2 separate regions of the Homo sapiens genome follow, and region 1 is linked to region 2. Evidence: promoter capture Hi-C in human tissues and cell types (Jung and others, 2019). All regions are on one chromosome and are shown on one strand. Each heading gives the region's core, a stretch centred on a gene start or on the middle of the fragment in contact. The rest is flanking DNA. Distances are from core to core; before and after follow the strand shown.

Region 1 (4,991 bases), core at 2,432-4,931, 330 kb before region 2:
CTGACATACCATATGAATTACATATTTGTTATGTTTTTGTGTATTGTTTGTTTCCCACACCGACCTGAGTATAAGTTTGTCAACCATAGGATTTCTGTTTTGTTTACTAATGTATATCTTGAGCAACTCAAATACTATTTGGAATATTGTGCATATTACAATTTGTTGAGTAAATGAAAAACAAAGACAATACTTGATATTTATTTATCATTATTATATACACTTTTTGAGACACGGTCTCACTCTGTCGCCCAGGCTGGAGTGCAGTAGCTTGATCATGGCTGACTGCAGCCTTCACCTCCTAGGCTCCTGGGCTCAAGCGATTCTCTTGCCTCAGCCTCCCAGGTAGCTGGGACCACAGGTATGTGCTACCACACCCAGCTAATTTAATATTTATTTTAAAATATATATATCCTTGCCGGGCACGATGGCTCACTCCTGTAATCCCAGCACTTTGGGAGGCTGAGGCGGGTGGATCACAAGGTCAGGAGTTCAAGACCAGCCTGGCCAATATGGTGAAACCCCTTCTCTATTAAAAATACAAAAATTAGTTGGGCATGGTGGTGCACACCTGTAGTCCCAGCTGCTTGGGAGGCTGAGGCAGGAGAATCATTTGAACCTGGGAGGCGGAGGTTACAGTGAGCCAAGACCGCACCACTGCACTCCAGCTTGGGCAACAGAGTAAGATTCCGTCTCAAAAAAAAAAAAAGAAAAAAAATATATATATCCTTATCACTAACCCTTATTCACTCAGATTCCTGGGTCTTTGAGTTCCTAAGAAAGGCTTCAGTGACCTTAATGTAATACACATCTACTTTATTTACCTATGAAGTCCCAGATGAAGACATTCTTGTGAAAGATGCGGGCAGATTTGAACCCATGGTGGAAAACTTGCTCAAGGGCTGCAACCAGGCCATTTTCTCCACACAGCAACACGGTGAGGCTTCCTCTCTGTGGGGCATAACACACAGTGCCAAAGAAAAATCTCCTGCATCTATGTCTAAAAAAAACACTAGAGAAGCAAGTGCTGAAGGTAGCTATATGAAGCATGTTTTTACAGCTACCAGAAAGCTTACAAATGAAAATTCAAGCACCCCATATTGCCTCGTGTATCACATATAAAAGCATCTTTAAAAGTCCCACTATACTAAGTTTTATAGCCCATAAATACCTCTTTTTCAGGTTTATGAAAATGTTTCACAATATTGTTCACAGCTTCTCCAATTCCTTCTTGTATCTGCCCAGCATTGGGTTCTGTAAAATAATAAACAGTGGCTGCATTCTCATGGGAGAGAAATAAACCAAAGTACTATGGGACATCAACTGTGTCCACCTAGGCAGGAAATACGTCATCAGAGCAGGCTGGCTTTGCCAGGGGCTCCATAGAACTTGCCTCTGGCCTGTTTGGCCAAGTGGGAAGCATCCTGGCAAAATGGAAAATAATCCAAGCGATCCCTAGATTCAAATCCCAGCATTACCATCTGCAATCTATAACCCTAGCCTAGTGTCTAACTTCCTCTGAGCTTTCAGTTTCCTCAACTGAAAATAGGAAAAATACACGCCTCACTGGGAAAACTGGTAAGTTATAGGAGTAAATAACTAGCATGGCGCCTGTCACAAAATGCTAGCAAGCCCCCAAATATGAGAAGCAAGGTTGAGAAGTCCCAACATCACTCCTCAAATGTTCCCTTATGCTACCCACCTACGAGCCTGTTAGTGAAATGTTCCCTTATGCTATCTACCTACGAGCCTGTTAGTGGAATGTTCCCTTATGCTACCTACCTACAAGCCTGTCAGTGGGCATAGATTAAGGCTTCAGGCGCTCTGGATAGTTAACCTGGAGTTTGAAGATTTGCTGTTGTGTTTAAAATAAGGGGAAGATGCCAGGTACCCTGTGGCATCTGGGCCTGAAGCCCAGAACTCCCTCCCTTCCTGGCTAGTCAATCTGTCTCAGCACTGCTTCCTTCTGCCAGCCAGTACTTGCTCTTCTAGGCCACTTTCCTGAGGGACAGGTTGGTGGGCTGCTTGAATGCGACCTAAATCACTTTTGTCCACCAAACCCAAGGAATGGTTTGTTTTTTTAAAAAGGTGGTAAACATTTCAGAAGTAGGTAACAACAGAAAAGGTATATAGTTCAGATTTTCTTGTAGTTCTAATTTACTTAACACACTATAAAGGAAAACCCATACATCCTCATGTTTAAGAATCTCTGAATTCATACTGCTCAAGGATTTCTTGCATGAACATTTCTTTTTTCTTTTTTGAGATGGAGTCTCGCTCTGTCTCCTAGGCTGGAGTGCAGTGGTGCAATGTCGGCTCACTGCACCCTCCGCCTCCCAGGTTCAAGCAATTCTCCTGCCTCAGCCTCCCGTGTAGCTGGGACTACAGGTGCCGGCCACCATGCATGGCTAATTTTTTTGTATTTTTAGTAGAAATAGGGTTTTACCATATTGGTCACGCTGGTCTCGAACTCCTGACCTCAGGTGATCCGCCCACCTCAGCCTCCCAAAGTGCTGGGATTACAGGCGTAAGCCACCATGCCCGGCTAACGTTTCTTTCAGTAAAATTCAAGTAGGTTTTTTCTACACTAATGCATAAAAATTGTTAAAATGAAAACCTCTTATAATTGAAGTACTGATACCATGGCCTCTTGTTCCTAGTGGTTTCTTTACCCAGTAGTTTTTGTTTGTTTTTTTTACCTTTACCTTTCTCTATTTTTTCTTTTAGACATGAAGTCTATTTTGAAAACTGTCACCCATTCCAAAAGAGCTTTGATCAGTATTATTATAAAACTGATTTTAAAAATTTTCAGTTCTCTGAATACCATTTTACATATAACATACTGTGAGAAAATACCGTTATCCATTTCTGAGTCTTGGGTCATTTAGACTTTTCTGCTTATAGCATGAGAAAAGAAAGTACGATTAAAAAAAAATGGGGGATAAAAGCCTCTCAGATAATACCCCCATGAAATTGGACTGACTCAGATGTTATAATAATTAGGATGGATTGAGCTGAAACCTACTTTTAAATTTTAAATCAGCATAATTAAAATTCACCATGTAATAAAAGTCACCAATTTTGATGAGCTTTGACAAATGGATAGTCATGTAACCACCACCACAATCATGATACAGAACATTTCCATCATCCCCAAAAGTTACCCTGTGCTCTTTTTTTTTTTTTTTTGAGACGGAGTCTCGCTCTGTCACCCAGGCTGGAGTGCAGTGGAGCGATCTCAGGTCACTGCAAGTTCCGCCTCCCGGGTTCACGCCATTCTCCTGCCTCAGCCTCCCGAGTAGCTGGGACTATTGACACCTGCCACCATGCCCGGCTAATTTTTTGTATTTTTAGTAGAGACGGGGTTTCACCATGTTAGCCAGGATGGTCTCGATCTGCTGACCTTGTGATCCGCCCGTCTTGGCCTCCCAAAGTGCTGTATTACAGGCGTGAGCCACCGTGCCCGGCCTATCCTGTGCTCTTTTCAGTTACCTTCCTTAGCTCCTAACTCCTGGCAACCAATGATCTACTTTCTATTATTATATTGCTTTTATAGAGATCTGATATATAAACAGATATATATCACTATCTGTTTATCCTTTCACCAGTTGATGTATATTGGGGTTGTTTCCATTTTTGGCTATTATGAATAAATCTCTCAAAATATCTGGGTACAAGTCTGTGTAGATATATGTATTCATTTCTTTTGTGTACATATCTAGGAGTAAGATTGCTGGGCCAAGCGTACGGTAAGTGTGCATGTATCTTTATAAATGCCAAGATGTTATTTTGTATTCCTACTAGCAATGCATGAGCTTTCTGTTACTCCACATCCTCACCAATATTTGTTGCTATAAGTGCTTTAAATTGGTTGGGCACAGTGGCTCACGCCTGCAATCCCAGCACTCTGGGAGGTCAAGGTGGGAGGATCACCTGAGGTCAGGAGTTCAACACCAGCCTGGCCAACATGGTGAAACCCCGTCTCTACCCAAAATACAAAATTAGCCTCACGTGGCAGTGCATGCCCGTAATCCCAGCTATTTGGGAGGCTGAGGCAGGAGAATCGCTTGAACCTGGGAAGCGGAGGTTGCAGTGAGATGAGACCGCACCACTGCACTCCAGCATGGCCAACAAGAGCGAAAACTCAGTCAAAACAAAACAAAACAAAACAAAAAAACAAAAAAACTGCACTCATAGTTAATACACAATCATGTGCTAGCAAATGGATAGAGACTAATAGAAGAATCTAGGGAAACTGCTTTGTTAATAAACTAAGGACCTATTAGGTACCTTTGTTATTCTACTTGTGGTTATAATCTATAGATAAAAAGCCCCTTCACTGATAAACTTCTGTGATTTTTCCCTAAATACCGCCTCTATATTCATGTTCTGTGGCTGCCTTCTGTGGCTGCTGTAATAGACTCACAAAACTTGGTGGCTTGAGTGACAGAAATACATTTTGTTGCAGGCCAGAAGTCAAAATTTAGTTATCACTGGGCCAAAAAAAAAAAAAAAAAAAAAGCAAGGTGTCAGCAGGGCTGTATTCCCTTGAAATTCTAGGGGAAAATCCCTTCCTTGCCTCTTTTAGCTTCTGGTGGCTGTTGGCATTCCTTGTTTTTTTTTTTTTTTTTTTTTTGAGACGGAGTCTCACTCTGTTGCCCAGGCTGTAGTGCATGTAGTGCAGTGGCACGATATTGGCTTACTGCAACCTCCACCTCTCAGGTTCAAGCAATTCTCCTGTCTCAGCCTCCCAAGTAGCTAGGATTACAGGTGCACACTACCATGCCCAGCTAATTTTTGTATTTTTAGTAGAGACGGGGTTTCGCCATGTTGGTCAGGCTGGTCTTGAACTCCTGACCTCAGGTGATCCACCCACCTCAGCATAATGCCTGGCCAGCATTTGTTGTTGTTGTTGTTGTTTTTTTTTTTTTTTTTAAAGACAGAGTCATGCTTGTTTCGGCAGCACATATACTAAAAAACTGGAACAATAC
Region 2 (4,932 bases), core at 1,602-4,101:
TTTTTTGGGGGGACGGAGTTTCGCTCTTGTTGCCCAAACTGGAGTGCAATGGTGCAAGCTCGGCTCACCGCAACCTCTGCCTCCCAGGTTCAAGCGATTCTCCCACCTCAGCCTCCCAAGGAGCTGGGATTACAGGCATGCACCACCACGGCCGGCTAATTTTGTATTTTTAGTAGAGACAGGGTTTCTCCATGTTGGTCAGACTAGTCTCGAACTCCCCACCTCAGGTGATCCACCTGCCTCAGCCTTCCAAAGTGCTGGGGTTACAGGCGTGAGCCACGGCCCCCAACTAAAAGAGTAATTTCTAATTCTTCTCTTTCCTCGGTCCCTCTATTCAAAACTATTCATGTCCCAGATCCAAAGGATTCTCTAAAGCAGTGTTAAAGTGCTGGTCAGTGAGGAGATAAGGAGTTTATGCAAGAACATAAACCAAGCCCTGTTTCCTTCATGGAGAAAGCCTCATCAGCTGGACTAAATAATGTGCTTAGTGACACACTTAATTACTAGTCTGGCTCAAGCTTCTTACTTTGTTACAAACCAGAAATAGCTTGCTGACCAACTGCCAGTCTCAGACTGTACCTTGTCCCAGAAGGGTACAAAATTAGGTTCTAAGGGCAAATATGGACCTTTACCTAGGGACCACACTCTAGCATGACAATGAAGATCATGTAGTCATCCCTGTCTTAGCCCCAAGTTCTGAAGAATTTTTCTTAACATTGTTAGTCTGTTTCCTCTTTTTTTCACTAAGCACTGTGTTTTAAAATTCTATCCAAATGAATCTACTCTTTGCTTTTCTTTCATTTATTTATCTATTTATTTATTTATTTTGAGACCAGGTTATGAGATTGGCTAACTTTTTATTTTTGGTAGAGACATGGTTTTGCCATGTTGCCTAGACTGGTCTCCAACTCCTGGCCTCAAGCAATCCACCCTCCTCAGGGTCCCAAAATGTTGGGATTACAGGTGTGAGCCACCATGCCTGGCCTACCCTTTGCTTTTCTAACAGCTGCATAATATTCCATGGTAACTCTCCCATTCCAGCTCCATGCCACCAGAAATAATTCTGCAAAGAACATCTTCATGTGTCTCCTGGTTTGGGCTCTTCACCTCTTAAGATTTTGTAACAGTCTTCTAAGTGTCTCCCTATTTCCAACTTCTGCCTAATTCAAATCTCTCTCTGCTCACAGTACAGTTCTAAAACCTTTGATAGCTCCCCATGACTGAAAGAGGAAATGCTCTTACTTCATCCTGGTCCCTAAGATTCTATTCCCAATGACCTGGCTTTATGTCTCACTACTGTGCTATTCATATTGTATCTTCCATTCACATTGGAGCGCTACTTTCTGGTCTTCTCTCATATTTCTACCTTTCCTGCCTGTCAAACCTTTACTCTTTTTATTTCACTCTCTACGATACATTTCCTCCCATTTGCAACCGTCAGATACTACCAATGTTCAAAAATAACCCCCTTGACAAAGCTTTCTCCTATTCTTTTCCTTATTAGAAATTTCAAAAGTTTGTTACTCTCCCGCTTGTGATATTATTCTACATATATTATAGTTATTTATTTTATTTTTTTGAGACAGTCTCGCTCTGTCGCCTAGCAGCCTAGGCGTGCAGTGGCGCGATCTCAGCTCACTGCAACCTCTGCCTCCTGGGTTGAGGCGATTCTCCTGCCTCAGCCTCCAGAGTAGCTGGGACTACCGGCGCCACTACTACTCCTGGCTAATTTTTGTATTTTTAGTACATGCCGCGGTTTTGCCGTGCTGGCTAGGCTGGTCTCCAACTCTCCTGATCTCAAGTGCCTCGGCCTCCCAAAGTGCTGGGATTACAGGCGTGAACCACCGTGCCCAGATAATTTTTGTATCTTTAGTAGAGGCGGGGTTTCGCCACGTTGCCCAGGCTGGTCTCGAACTCCTGAGCTCAAGCAGTTCTCCCACCTCGGCCTCCCAAGTTTAATGTAAAATATCAGATGCCATTGTTTCAGAAAGCCTTCAGTAGATTAAGGAGATTGTTCTCCTTATCCTTAAGATGTCTATTTTTTACATGGCAATATTAACGGACTGAAAGCTCCTGGAGAGACGCAATTGCCCTTGTAACTTCCATTTCCGTACAATTTCTGGTAGGAAATAATAATAACAATAACACTTAGTGGTGTTTATTATTTGCTGGGCATCCTTATAAGGGTTTTACATGTTTTAAATTTATCCCTCAGGACAACTCCATGTGATGGGTGCTATTATCACAAAAATTTTATAGATAAAGAACCTAGGCACAGGGAGAGGTTACGTTACCGGTCCATGGTCACGTGGCTGGTGAATGGCAGAGCCGGGGGCTGAACCCAGCAATCTCAGCCAGGGATCCGTGGTCTTAACCACTTTGTTACCTTTATCCCAGGGTCTGTCAATGTTTATTCCAGTTACAGGGGTGGAATTCTGCTAGAAGCTTTTGAGAACCTCATCTAGCGTTGTGTTTTTTTCTACCAAGGCTTTTAGCTGCTAAGAGAGAGGCCACTGCCAGTAACAGCCGGGGCGCCGAGCTGTCAAGGCTGACGGAGGAATGGACGCTCATCGCGCAGCGGAGTGTTGGAGGGGCAAGCCCGCCAAGAGACCCACTTTGCACAACTGTCCTCAGCCAGGAAACGACAGATCAGGAACCCAGGGACAGAAACACACGCGGGGCCTCTTCAGAGGTCGGCGGGGGGGGTGGGAAAGGGGCGGGGAGGAAGAGCAGCGCAGGGCCTGGCCGTTTGGAGGAGGTGCTGGGGCGGCGCGAAGGGAGGCGGGACAGGGTAGACTCACAGATCCAGGAGCTGACTGACCCGCCGTGGGCGAGGCATCGCTGCAGCGTCTGAAGCCTCTTCCGCGGTCCCAGGGCCTCCAGAACCCAGCCAGGGACCGTCCGCCAACTCCCGCCCACCGCGCGACGCGTAGGTTTTTGTGACGTCACACGGATTTTTCCGGTGACCGGGGCGTGGCCACGCTTCGGACTCCACAAGGAAAGAAGAGAGCCCCCTTTGGGGCGGAGCCACTGAGGGCTGCGCGGAAGAGGCTGGGTGTGATAAACTATAAAGAGGCCCTAAACTCGGATGCAACGTGACGGGAGTTGTAGTTCTTTCACCTGGCGGGCGTCTGCTCCGGTTCAGCTGCAGGAGGTTTCTTGGGAGTTCAGCCCAGCGCGCAGCCCCGCCGCGACGCCGCGAGCCGAGAACTCTCCTGGGGCGAAGGGAGCGCTGAGAAGTCGCTACTCTTACTAAAAGGATGCGTTGGATGCTGGGCCATACCCTTGGCGATGCACACTGGAGACCCGCTCGGATACGGACTCCATTAACATCAAACGGAGCGTGTTAGAGGATCCGAGTTTACTGAGCACTTTCTAGGAAGCGTGCACTGAGCTACGTGCTTTCTAGGCCTTAGTTCAATACTTAACCATATTCATTATAATCCGGTGAAATCGTAATTATTTAGCCTTATTTTACAGATGAGGACACTGCGTACCAACAAGTAACCTCACTAAGAATTTCGTCATGGAGGAGAAGGGAACCTGTATTCAAATTAGGAAGGATCCTGAAGAAAGGGCACCTTTAGGTGGAATTTTATCTTTGGTTCTGCTGCAGAGTACTTGCTGCTTTTTAGTGCTCCCTCCACCCCCCTCATTCTTCCTTGTAGATTAGTCTGTTGTTTGTATGCTGAGTTCCTTTTTTAAGCTCCTTGAAAGTTGGAACCCACTGCTGTTGCCTGTTCAGGATGCTACACATTGAATCAACATGGATTTATTAAGCGCTGAACGAGGGCTAGGGATCGTGCTGGGTGCTGAGGATTGAGTGGCGAACACTTGGGTCAGACAAGTAAAAGGGCAATTAGAATAACTGTTAAATGCTTAGATGGGGTTAGTTCTATGGAAGCACCCATGGGGGTGGGATACAGATCAGAGAGAAAAGGGTGGTCTGCAAATAGTTTGGGATGGCTACACTGGAGAGTGATCAAGAGTGAGTGTAGGGCAGGGGTTGGCCGACTTTTTCCATAAAGTGCTCTGAAAGTTGCAGATTCCAGGAGAAGTAACTATTGTCAGACCCAGACAAATTGGAGCCTAGAGACCAGAAAGGAAGGAAACTCATGCTTGTATGTCTGAGATAAGAACTGTCTCAAGGCCAGACGCGGTGGCTCACACCTGTAATCCTAGTACTTTGGGAGGCCGAGGCGGGCGGATCACGAGGTCAGGAGTTTGAGACCAGCCTGGCCAACGTGGTGAAATTCCCGTCTCTACTAAAAATACAAAAAAAAAAAAAAAAAACTGGGTGTGGTGGCGGGCGCCTGTAATCCCAGCTACTGAGGAGGCTGAGGCAGGAGAATCGCTTGAACTCGGAGGAGGTTATAGTGAGCCGAGATCGTGCCACTGCACTCCAGCCTGGGCGACAGAGCAAGACTCCGTCTCAAAAAAAAAAAAAAAGAAAGAACGAACTGCCTCAAGGACTTTAAAAAATAAACCAAAAAACCCACAATTTCTTCACATCTTTCATGCATTTAATGTTTTGCACAACTTGCTTGTTTTGCAAATATGCGCACATTTCTATGACAAGATTTATTGCTAAATATTCTTTAAAACTGCAGCAGTTCAGATAAGATACTGTCGAAAGGACGTTTGGCCCAGCAGCAGGACCTCCACCAATGAACGGACTCCAATTCTTGATTTGAGCCTTGGGAACCAATCAACTTAGTTTCCAAGAGTTTATGTGAACTTCCCTCCTTTACCAGTAAAATCTTCCCCCTATTCTTCCCTTCTCCAGACCCGTGGCTTGCCATAGCTGTACATCTTGGATTATAATTCTTTTTGTTCACTCCCAAAGAAACTCAGTATCTTTGGAGAATTCTTTCTTTGTTGTCTTTTAGCTTCCCAGAGCCAAACAAGAAATATTTTAGGTTTTGTGGGTCA

What was found. Contacts are between HindIII fragments. The study calls those that stand out against the background at their distance.
Region 1: a fragment that was not itself captured here is called in contact with the fragment with the promoter of AMN1 in region 2 in 1 of the 25 tissues and cell types used here (dorsolateral prefrontal cortex).

What each region holds. Positions count from the first base shown.
Region 1 is chr12:31,391,443-31,396,433 of GRCh38, forward strand. DENND5B (DENN domain containing 5B) reads right to left here. Exons shown (of 21, transcript NM_144973.4): 18 at 1,172-1,254; 19 at 825-951. It also overlaps the pseudogene RNU6-618P. Among named protein-coding and RNA genes, the nearest start is that of LINC02387, 25 kb to the left of the region's middle. The HindIII fragment of the contact is 7,553 bases long and covers 1-4,991 here.
Region 2 is chr12:31,726,170-31,731,101 of GRCh38, forward strand. AMN1 (antagonist of mitotic exit network 1 homolog) reads right to left here and starts at 2,852. Exons shown (of 7, transcript NM_001113402.2): 1 at 2,802-2,852. The coding sequence starts at 2,839. It overlaps AMN1-AS1 (AMN1 antisense RNA 1), which reads left to right and starts at 3,096. Exons shown (of 1, transcript NR_198987.1): 1 at 3,096-4,932. It overlaps LOC105369722 (a long non-coding RNA gene), which reads left to right. Exons shown (of 3, transcript XR_931497.3): 3 at 2,488-2,721. RefSeq lists a silencer at 2,641-2,720 and enhancers at 2,771-3,120, 3,133-3,765, 3,161-3,360. The HindIII fragment of the contact is 7,129 bases long and covers 1,962-4,932 here.